Regions from separate parts of the Homo sapiens genome. Here regions 2 and 3 are each linked to region 1. The links are contacts of gene promoters, found by promoter capture Hi-C in blood cells and fetal thymus (Javierre and others, 2016). All regions are on one chromosome and are shown on one strand. The core of a region is centred on a gene start or on the middle of the fragment in contact, and the rest is flanking DNA. Distances in the headings are between cores, read along the strand shown.

Evidence for each region. The method cuts DNA at HindIII sites, captures the fragments that hold promoters and counts their contacts. A CHiCAGO score of 5 or more calls a contact.
Region 2: a contact is called between a fragment that was not itself captured here and the fragment with the promoter of HPS5 in region 1, in 1 of 17 cell types (naive CD4 T cells). The highest score is 5.7, in naive CD4 T cells.
Region 3: a fragment that was not itself captured here is called in contact with the fragment with the promoter of HPS5 in region 1 in 1 of 17 cell types (fetal thymus); the score reaches 6.2 in fetal thymus.

What each region holds. Positions count from the first base shown.
Region 1 is chr11:18,320,721-18,323,736 of GRCh38, forward strand. HPS5 (HPS5 biogenesis of lysosomal organelles complex 2 subunit 2) reads right to left here and starts at 1,420. Exons shown (of 23, transcript NM_181507.2): 1 at 1,226-1,420. GTF2H1 (general transcription factor IIH subunit 1) reads left to right here and starts at 1,847. Exons shown (of 15, transcript NM_005316.4): 1 at 1,847-2,020. RefSeq lists enhancers at 918-1,867, 1,005-2,204, 1,095-1,394, 1,405-1,824. The HindIII fragment of the contact is 9,902 bases long and covers 1-3,016 here.
Region 2 is chr11:17,283,723-17,287,052 of GRCh38, forward strand. The region is part of intron 2 of NUCB2 (nucleobindin 2); the gene reads left to right. Among named protein-coding and RNA genes, the nearest start is that of NUCB2, 8.6 kb to the left of the region's middle. The HindIII fragment of the contact is 2,821 bases long and covers 1-2,713 here.
Region 3 is chr11:16,742,705-16,745,843 of GRCh38, forward strand. C11orf58 (chromosome 11 open reading frame 58) reads left to right here. Exons shown (of 5, transcript NM_014267.6): 2 at 1,897-1,980. Among named protein-coding and RNA genes, the nearest start is that of C11orf58, 5.6 kb to the left of the region's middle. The HindIII fragment of the contact is 3,409 bases long and covers 1-3,139 here.

The DNA.
Region 1 (3,016 bases), core at 170-2,669:
AATGAGGTGCCTAGAACTGAGCATAATACTCCTTAAGTAGTTAGATGAGCCCAGAATAGAGTAGAAACACTAACTTCCTGGATCTAGACACTAAGTTTCTATATTACAACCTAAAAACAGTATTAGTTGTGTTTAAGTGGCCATGTTACACATTGATTCAACAGAGCAAGTGGTCAACTAAAACCCAAAGAAATTGTTTACATAAATAAAATCTTCTTAGCCAGTAGCTACATACAGTAGAACTGAGCTCAAATTGAAAGCTGCTATTAATCAAATGCAACAATGGATATAAAAAGTACCTAGAAATGTACAAACAGTATAAAGAGGAACAGCAGAATGCTGATAATTGTTCAAGTTGCGTTAAGTGTACATGAGGGTTCAATTTATTATCCTACTTTTGTCTGCGTTTGAAATTTTCCACAATAAAATTTAAAAAATATATACATAATATTGTACAAGCCTTCAACAGCTCTATTTCTTGAAAATCTGTTATCTCCTCCCTGCTTCTTTTTCCAGCCTTATTTCCCATCTTAACCTCTCTATTCTCCAACTACATTGGACTCGACTCTTTTTTTCTTTTTCATTCCATAAACTTGCTGTGCCTCCATGGTTTAATATATGATGTTTATGGAATCTTCCCCCATTTACCAAAACCCTACCTTTCTGCAAAGCTGAGTTTAAATGTTACTTCTGTGAAGGCACTCTACCAAAAACTAAGAACATAGAAGTTGGCGACAAATGCTTAACCAAAGTAAATGAAACAACTTTTGGGAGACTGGCTTGCCCAAGGATCACAGAGTTCATAAATGGTAGAGCTGAGATTAGAATACGCGTCTCCTGAATCCAAATCTCATCTTTCCATTATCGTAAAATAGTTCAGTGTTTGTTGCTCACACATCAAATGCAAACATGTTTCTCTTTTGCCCCAGTAGGTGCGTGGAGGAAGAGGAGAAAGAAGTAAGAAAGATAGCAAAAATTGAAGAAATGAGAAGGGGAAGTTGCAGACTGCCTCATTTTCACAATGGGATCTTTCTATCCAAGAAGAAATGATCAGAAAACAACTCTCTGCCTCAGACAAATGGCGACTGACTCATTTATACATTCATTCATTCAACATTCTGAGTGCCTACTATGTTCCAGGACCTGAACACACCGCTAGAGACACAGGGATGAACAAAACACAATCCCTACCCACAAAAAGCTCCTTGCCTAGTGGAACTACTACCTTTTTAACAGCAGTAACTTTAATATCTTGAGATTTCTTGAGAGGAGACCCAGTAACCAATTTTCAAAGCCAGGCTCACAGACCAGCAGCCCGGAGGTCCCAGCCCAGCTCCACCACATCCAGGGCAGTACCTCGCAGCTCTCAGTAGATCGGATCTTGTCTCCCGGCTTAGCGCCGGGGAACTCACCGCGCACTAAGAGCGGAACGTGAACTTCAGTCTCCCCTCGCGTTCCTCCCCTTCCTTGCTGACGTCATCCAGGAGAGCCGCAGACTGGAAACAACGCTACTAACGGCACTTCCTCATCACGTGACGAGTCACGCCCCTCCTTCCGCGTGGTCCCTCCCCCTCAGGCCGCGGTCGCGATTACGCTCTCTACGGCCTGCGACCGCAGGGCCGTTGCGGGCTGGAGACACGGCGCCGACTGGAACCGGAGGAGCTCTAGGCCAAATGGTTGGGCCAGCCAGGATCCCAGGACCCTTCGCCGCTCGAGACCGGAGAGAGGAAACGAAACAGGCGGGAACCCGTGGGGGAGGGAGGGAACTAGCGGAAGGTGTCATGGCGGCCGCGCTCTTGAGTCACGTGCCCAGGGCCCGCCTTGCTACTTCCGGTCACGTGCCCTCAGACTCCTCGCAGCCAGCGATGGAGGCGAGACCCCCTAGTAACAGAGGCGGTGGCTACTGCTGCGGCCACTGGGTTTCGGCCTCTTCCCAGCAGCGGCTCTAAGAAGCGCAGCGGAACTCGACCGGATCCAACCCAGTTAGTTACTTCCTGTCTAGAGTTGTAGCTTCCACCTGGTAAGTTTAGACCGAAGAATGCAGGCGGGCGGGTGGGTGGGCGGGTGAGGAGCTGACAGGCCTGGGGGCCGCTGGACGGCGTGGATTCTACCCCTGTTCCCAGCGTCGCTGTCGCCGTCCTCCCAACGCCCAAGCCTGGCGTCTTGTTTGCCCTTATCCCGAGGCGAGGAAGAGGCGACCCCTAATCTACTTGTCTAAAGGAAACCTGCTCTTAAATTGAGAGCAGGTTTACCCAAAGCCAGGATCAGATTTGGCTTATGAGAATGAAGTGGAGGCCTCTCCCAGACAGAGAAGCCCTTCCCGTCAGGAAATGTGCTGTTGAGTCTGGGATTCTGTAAGAGAAAAGCTGTCACCTTGTTGTCTGCACACCTTTTGCTTCCACCTGTCAATCTTACCTCTCTTAAAAACCTTAACACGTGCCAGTCCACACACTCCTAGTTTTGGTCATTTGATTGTCGTGTAATGATGAAAAATAGACCATGAGTACCTGGATATATGTAATTATTTTGTAAATCCCCCAGTGTTCTCAAAGGCCAAATTAAATAAGGAGGTGACTTTTCTTATTTTTTTTTAAGAGACAGAGTCTTGTTCTGTCGTCCTGGCTGGAATGCAGTGGCGTGATAATAGCTCACTGTAACCTCGAATTCCTGGGCTCAAGCGATTCTCCTGCCTAGACCTCCCAAAGCGCCAGAATTATGCTACAGTGCCTGGCCCCAAATGACTCCTAAACTCCAATTTTAGCATCAGTAAAATGGGGATGGGGAAAGAAGATATGAAAAATACACCCTTTGTCCATTTGAAGACCCAGTCTTAAAAACAAAAACAAAAAAAAAACTGAGTGGTTTGAATGAAATGTGCTTTGCAGTGAGTATTGACTCCATACAAACCAATATCCAGACTTGTGATTTTCAAACATTTTAAAGGAGTGGAACAATTTCTCCCCATGAATTTTTATCTGGAACCCAATATATAAAGCAGCATGCTCTGGTGGAACTA
Region 2 (3,330 bases), core at 53-2,552, 1.0 Mb before region 1:
CATTTATTGAGCTACTTGCTATAATCAAGGCACTAAAATGACAGAGATAAGTTATCCCAAGGGTATCACATAACTAATCATCAGGAAGTAAATTTATATTGAAAGTAAATATAATTCATCTCAAGATACATTTCACTATGGTCACATGAGGAACACTTGCCTTCCTTGCTAGCTAAAAGTAGTTTGTTCTTTTTCTTTCCTTTCTTCTTTTTTTAACCACTTAACTGTTAGTTGTCTTGAAATTTTCTCTTACTACTAGTTCTTGCTTAACTTATTTAGCCACACCAATATTTTATTTCCTTCCAGACTTTTATTTTTTTTGTTGAGACGGAGTCTCACTCTTTCACCCACGCTGGAGTGCAATGGCTTAGTGCAACCTCTGCCTCCTATGTTCAAGCGATTCTCCTGCCTCAGCCTCCTCAGTAGCTGGGACTACAGGCATCCACCACCACACCCAACTAATTTTTGTATTTTTAGTAGAGATGGGGTCTCACCATGTTGGCCAGGGTGGTCTTGAACTCCTGACCTCAGGTGATCTGCCTGCCTCAGCCCCCTACAGTGATGGGATTACAGGAGTGAGCCACCGTGCCCAGCCCCTTCCAGACTTTTCTTTGTGAATATTATATAAATATACCCTATACTTGTCCTGCAAAATGGTTCAATTGTCATTATTTCTATTTCAAAAGTAAACTGAAATAAATAGCTTTGAGAAAAAGAAATTCAGGGAATGGAAATTGGAGTGAGAAAGATTCTAAAGATTCAGTCAATCTTTTAGAGTTTTTAGAAGGGAGACAGTAAGTTAAGATTTTATTTCTACACAGTATATTTGTATTTTTGAAAGTTTTTACATTTTTTGGTTGTATTAGATAGGCACAAAGTACAGTAGTTCTTTTGCTGCTAGTATTGCAGTTTCCTTTTTTCTGATCTAGACTTGTTGACCTCAAACAAAATAATCAGGAGACTTGTGACCATAAAAACAACCCAGTTTTTAAGAGACATTTAACGTTATAAATCACCTGACTGAGAATGTCTGTTTGGTGAATACCATTTTCATGACTTTTAATTTTTTTTAATTAACAGAAAAGTATCATGCTATGCATTGTTTTGTAAGCAGCATTTTAAAAATTGCAATTGTATTTAATAGCTTACCTTCCTCACTAGATTGAAGCCCTGTGAGGGTAAGGACTATGTCGATCTCGCTTACCTTTGTCTTCTAGCATAGTATCTGGTACCATAGTCATTACTTAATACATAAATATTAGTTTAGTTTTGTTTTTAGAAACAAAGTCTCAATACATACATACATACATACATACATACTTATAATAGGTTAAAGGAAACATGCTTCAATTCAGCCATTAATTGAAAAGGAAGAGGGGCAAAAGAAGAGGGTTGAGGAAGATGGAAAAAGATACATAAAAGAGGCTGGGCGCGGTGGCTCATGCCTGTAATCCCAGCACTTTGGGAGGCCAAGGCGGGCAGATCACAAGGTCAGGAGATCAAGACCATCCTGGCTAACATGGTGAAACCCCGTCTCTACTAAAAACATACAAAAAAATTAGCCGGGCGTGGCTGGGTGAGGTGGCTCACGCCTATAATCCCAGCACTTTGGGAGGCCGAGGCGGGCGGATCACGAGGTCAAGAGATCGAGACCAGCCTGGACAACATGGTGAAACCCTGTCTTTACTAAAAAAAACACAAAAAATTAGCCAGGCATGGTGGCATGCGCCTGTAGTCCCAGCTACTTAGGAGGCTGAGGCAGGAGAATTGCTTAAACCCAGGAGGCGGAGGTTGCAGTGAGCTGAGATTGCACTACTGCACTCCAGCCTGTGCAACAGAGCGAGACACTGTCTCAAAAAAAAAAAAAAAAAATTAGCTGGGCGTGGTGGCGGGCACCTGTAGTCCCAGCTACTCAGGAGGCTGAGGCAGGAGAATGGTGTGAACCCGGGAGGCGGAGTTTGCAGTGAGCCAAGATCGCGCCACTGCACTCCAGCCTGGGTGACAGAGTGAGACTCCGTCTCAAAAAAAAAAAAAAAAAAAAAAAGATATATAAAGGAGGAACAGAGACTACTTCCAAGGAAAGAGAAAATTTTCAGTTTTCTGTACTTTTCACCCTGGTTATCTATGGTAATTTTTTTTAACCACTTCCAGGATATCTTGCCCAACAATCAAAACAGGAAACCATCACACATACATGCGCGCACGTGTGCGTACACACACACACACACACACACACACACACACAAAGCAAACTTAATCTGTATAACTATGGGTATAAATCAGTAGCTAAGAAATCTGCCTCTGTGTATGAATGGAAATTTTATTTTTTGAGACATGTTCTCACTCTGTCACCCTGGCTAGAGTGCTGTGGCGTGACCATGGCTCACTGCAGCCTCAACCTGCTGGGCTCAGGTGATCTTCCCACCTCATCCCCCACCAAGTAGCTGGGACTACAGGCATGTGCCACCATGCCCAACTAATTTTTGTATTTTTTGTAGAGACAGAGGTTTCACCATATTGCTCAGGCTGGTCTTGAACTCCTGGGCTCAAGGAATCCACCCTCCTTGTCCTCACAAAGTGCTGGGATTATAGGCAGGAACCTCCGTGCCCAGCAGAATAGAAATTTTGACTTGGTTGAGACAGGGGAAGAGAGATTAGCTTTCTTTTAGGACTTTAAAATTTAAGGAAATTATATCTACTGAATACTAAGAGAAGCTTAAGAACTCTGCTTACTTTGTAATTTTACCAGAGGCTCTGATGCCTTTGGGGTCAGTGCCTCCCATTCTGTCTTGAGATGACTACATAATTTAGAATTTCACACCATCCTACTTTAGAGAGTAAATTATCAGCCTGTCCTGGTTTGGATGAGTCTACTGTTTCAGCCTGGTTCAGCCCAGTGTCTCCTCTTTAGGTCCGTATCTCTCTTATGAAAGAAGAGGGTGATAAAGGAAAGGAGAAGGCCATTCTTACTGACCTGATAGTGGAAGAAAAGTAGGTTAGTTCTCCTTCTTCCTATTGCCTGTCCTTATCACTCATCTCTTTCTTCTATATGGATATTTGTATATTTTCTCATTCATGAAAATCTGTAAACCTAGTAAATTTGCTGTTATTCCTTTAATGCAGACACATTTGACATCTTGGCATTTAAAGAGACTTTTGTGTCATTATTTTTCTGCCTAATGTGCTGGAATACTTACCATTTTTTTTTTAAATACAGTTGATGTTTATGGAGGCCTTATTAAGAATTAGAGTCAGTGTTTAAATTAATTGTCCTAGTTATGTCTAGAATAAGCACTAACAGATTAGAAACTAGTAGAAAACATTCTCCAT
Region 3 (3,139 bases), core at 199-2,698, 1.6 Mb before region 1:
TAATTTTTAGAAATAATAATGGGAGATAGTGCAAAACAACTTTATTAGGAATTTTAATGTGAATTTAACAATAGCAAACCGAAATTTATATTCTTTGTTTTCCTGATTTTGATGTACATATAGTCATCCTTCAGTATGCTAAATGTGGGGGATTGGTTCCAGGACCCACCCACCTCTTTGGCAAATCTTGCATACTCAAGTTCTGCAGCCAGCCCTGTGGAACCTGAGAATAGGAAAAATCAGCCTTCCATATACTTGGGATGGATCTGCATTTGGTTGAAAAAAATCCACTTATAAGGGACCCTTGAAGTTCAAACCTGTCTCGGATTTGCATCATCAAAATACAATACTTGAGGAATTTTTGAAACCTATTGCTTACAATTTTGTAATTGTCATCCTTGCTCCATAATTGCAAAACATTTTTATTTTTAGATTATAAACTTAATTAGAATGATAAATTCGGTGAATATTTTTATTTCATTTTCCTTCCAGTCACCTTGTGTACACATCTGCCTTCACCCTTTGTCCATTTGCAACCAAATCAAGTAAATTTTGATGCATAAACATTGTAAAAGATGAGATAAAACACTCACACCTCCTTTTAGAAAATGGGATGATCCTGGCTCTTACTGTGAAATATTGCAAGATGAAGTCCTTCCTGCTGATGGCTCTCCCAGTGAGAGTACATTTCTTGTTTGTCTTTTTTTTCTTTTTCTTGTCAATTCTTGGGTGGGAGAAAAGCCTTCTAATATTTCCTCATCCAAAAACTCATAGTCTGAGATTTTTGCAGTTAATTTTATCATGATTAGTCTAGAATACGACTGCCTTTCATTTTGCATTCACCTTCTTCGTCTAATAATGATTAATGCCTTCTGTCAGTTTTTTCTCTTTGCCATTATGAATGGAAAATGAAAAATTGTGAATTCCCATCGGTGTTCAGTGAAAGCTAAAAGTAGACAACAGGTATGATGTCTTGAAAGATGATGATGAAATACTTTGGACAATACAATGAGAAAACTAATATCTTAAAAACTATTTAGTTATTTTTAGCATAGTTGAGAATAATGAATTATAAATAATGAATTATAAATAATGAACTATTAAAAACTATTAAAAAACAACAGTTTTTACATTTGTTTCAAAATGTAGGGAAAAAATACGCTCACTAGGATTCCATCATATTTCTTAGATTTATAAGAGTTCAGTGGACTCATTTGATAATTGCAAGATAGCATGAGTTTTAGTCTGTTCTTTTAAAAAATAAGTTTTCTCTTTGTTCTTTGGAAGACTTTTAAGAAAGAATAAAAGTAATGACATCTCAATCCTAACAAGTAACTAGAACTGCTAAAAAAAAAAAAAAAAAGGCAACTGAAAAGTTAAAATTTTCTCTCTTAAAAGTTAGCTCACTGATAAAGGCAGAATTTTTAACTTCAACTAACAACTGTGGCTGCCATCTAAGTTCAGAGTACTAGGTGCTCTAGGACCCTACCCTGCGAGGCAGTGGGTCTCAAAGTGTGGTCCCCAGATAAATAGCATCAGCAATCATTTAAGAATTTGTTGAAATTCAAATCCTAGAGCTCCACCCCAGACCCGCTGAATCTCTGGGGCTGTAGCCCTGCAGTCTGTTTTAACAAGCCCTCTAGGTGACGCTGATAGAGGCAAACTTTTGAGACTCAGCTCTGGCTGTAGGAGAACTAAAGGATTCTGCTGTGAGGTAATAGAAAAGGAGTAAATTTGAATGTGATGAATATGCTTAACTTCCTAAGCAAGAAAAATGAACGCTGTTTATAGTTACAACTGACAGGGGAAAAAAACTTGAGAGTTACAGGTAGACTTTAGATTTCGTAATACTTATTTTTATGCAAAAAAAATTTAATCAACCAATTTTTTTTCTAGCTGGGATCTAGCAATTGGGAGGCAGCAGACTTGGGTAATGAAGAGAGAAAACAAAAGTTCTTGAGACTTATGGGTGCAGGAAAGGTAAGCATCAGATGGTGTGCATTTTTACCTTTTCTGTGAAAATATTGCCATTTTTATGTATGCTAAGTAAGAAGGACTGAATATACTTGGATTCCATTTTCCTGTTCTGTGTGATTTCTTTTGGCTTTGGGAAATACATGTGGCCTAACCAAGCACATAAAATTTATATTATTTTTGAGCCACTTCTAGGATTCTCTGTCCGTATAGTTTGAAGACTGTACAGAGAAAAATTTGGTTCAAGGAGGCTGTATAGGAGAAAAGAGATGTCAAAGTTTATGATTTGCCATATGTTGGCCCAGTGGTTTGATAGAATATATTTCTTCTGGGTAGGTTATCTTGTGGGAACCTCTGGCCAAAGTGAAAAGGCTGTCATATTTTATAGCTCCCTCCAGCCCTTGAAGTAGTAACCAGAGGAATATCCTTTATCAAAAACTTAATTTTAAGACTACACTTTCAGAGATTATTTCTATAGTTTGTTACTAGATAGAGAAGTTTCTCTGAATGTGTAGAACACCAGGGGGAAAGAAAACCTTAATTTTAAAAATGTTCAAGATACTTTGAAATGCCTGTCAGTTTGGTTAACGTTAATAGAAGGTACAGTTGACCCTTGAGCAATGTGGGGGTTAGGGGTGCTGGTTCTGCAGGCAGTCAGAAGTTTGCATATAACTTTTGACTCCCCAACAACTTAACTACTAATAGCCTACTGTTGACTGGAAGTCTTACTGATAACATAATTATCAGTTAACACATATTTTGGGTGTTAAATGTATTATATCCTGTATTCTTACAATAAAGAAAAGGAAATGTTATCAAGAAAATTATAAGGAAGAGAAAATAATTGACTCTTCATTAATTGGAAGTGGATTATCATAAAGGTCTTCATCTTCATAGTTTTCATGTTGAGTGGGCTGAAAAGGAGGGATTGTCTTACTGTCTGGGAGTGGCAGAGGCAGAAGTATATTCAAGTATAAGTGGATCCACACAGTTTAATCCTGTGTTCAGGGTCAACTATATAAAACAAGTGCCAGGAAAATATCTATTGTAAAAACCTTTCTTTATCCTAGCAGTTTATACAGGGATCTCTAGATACTTAGTTTTTGTAAGCAAGTAAATTTATTTTCCTAACATTGTCCTAACAGACTTCCTACAAACTAAATTG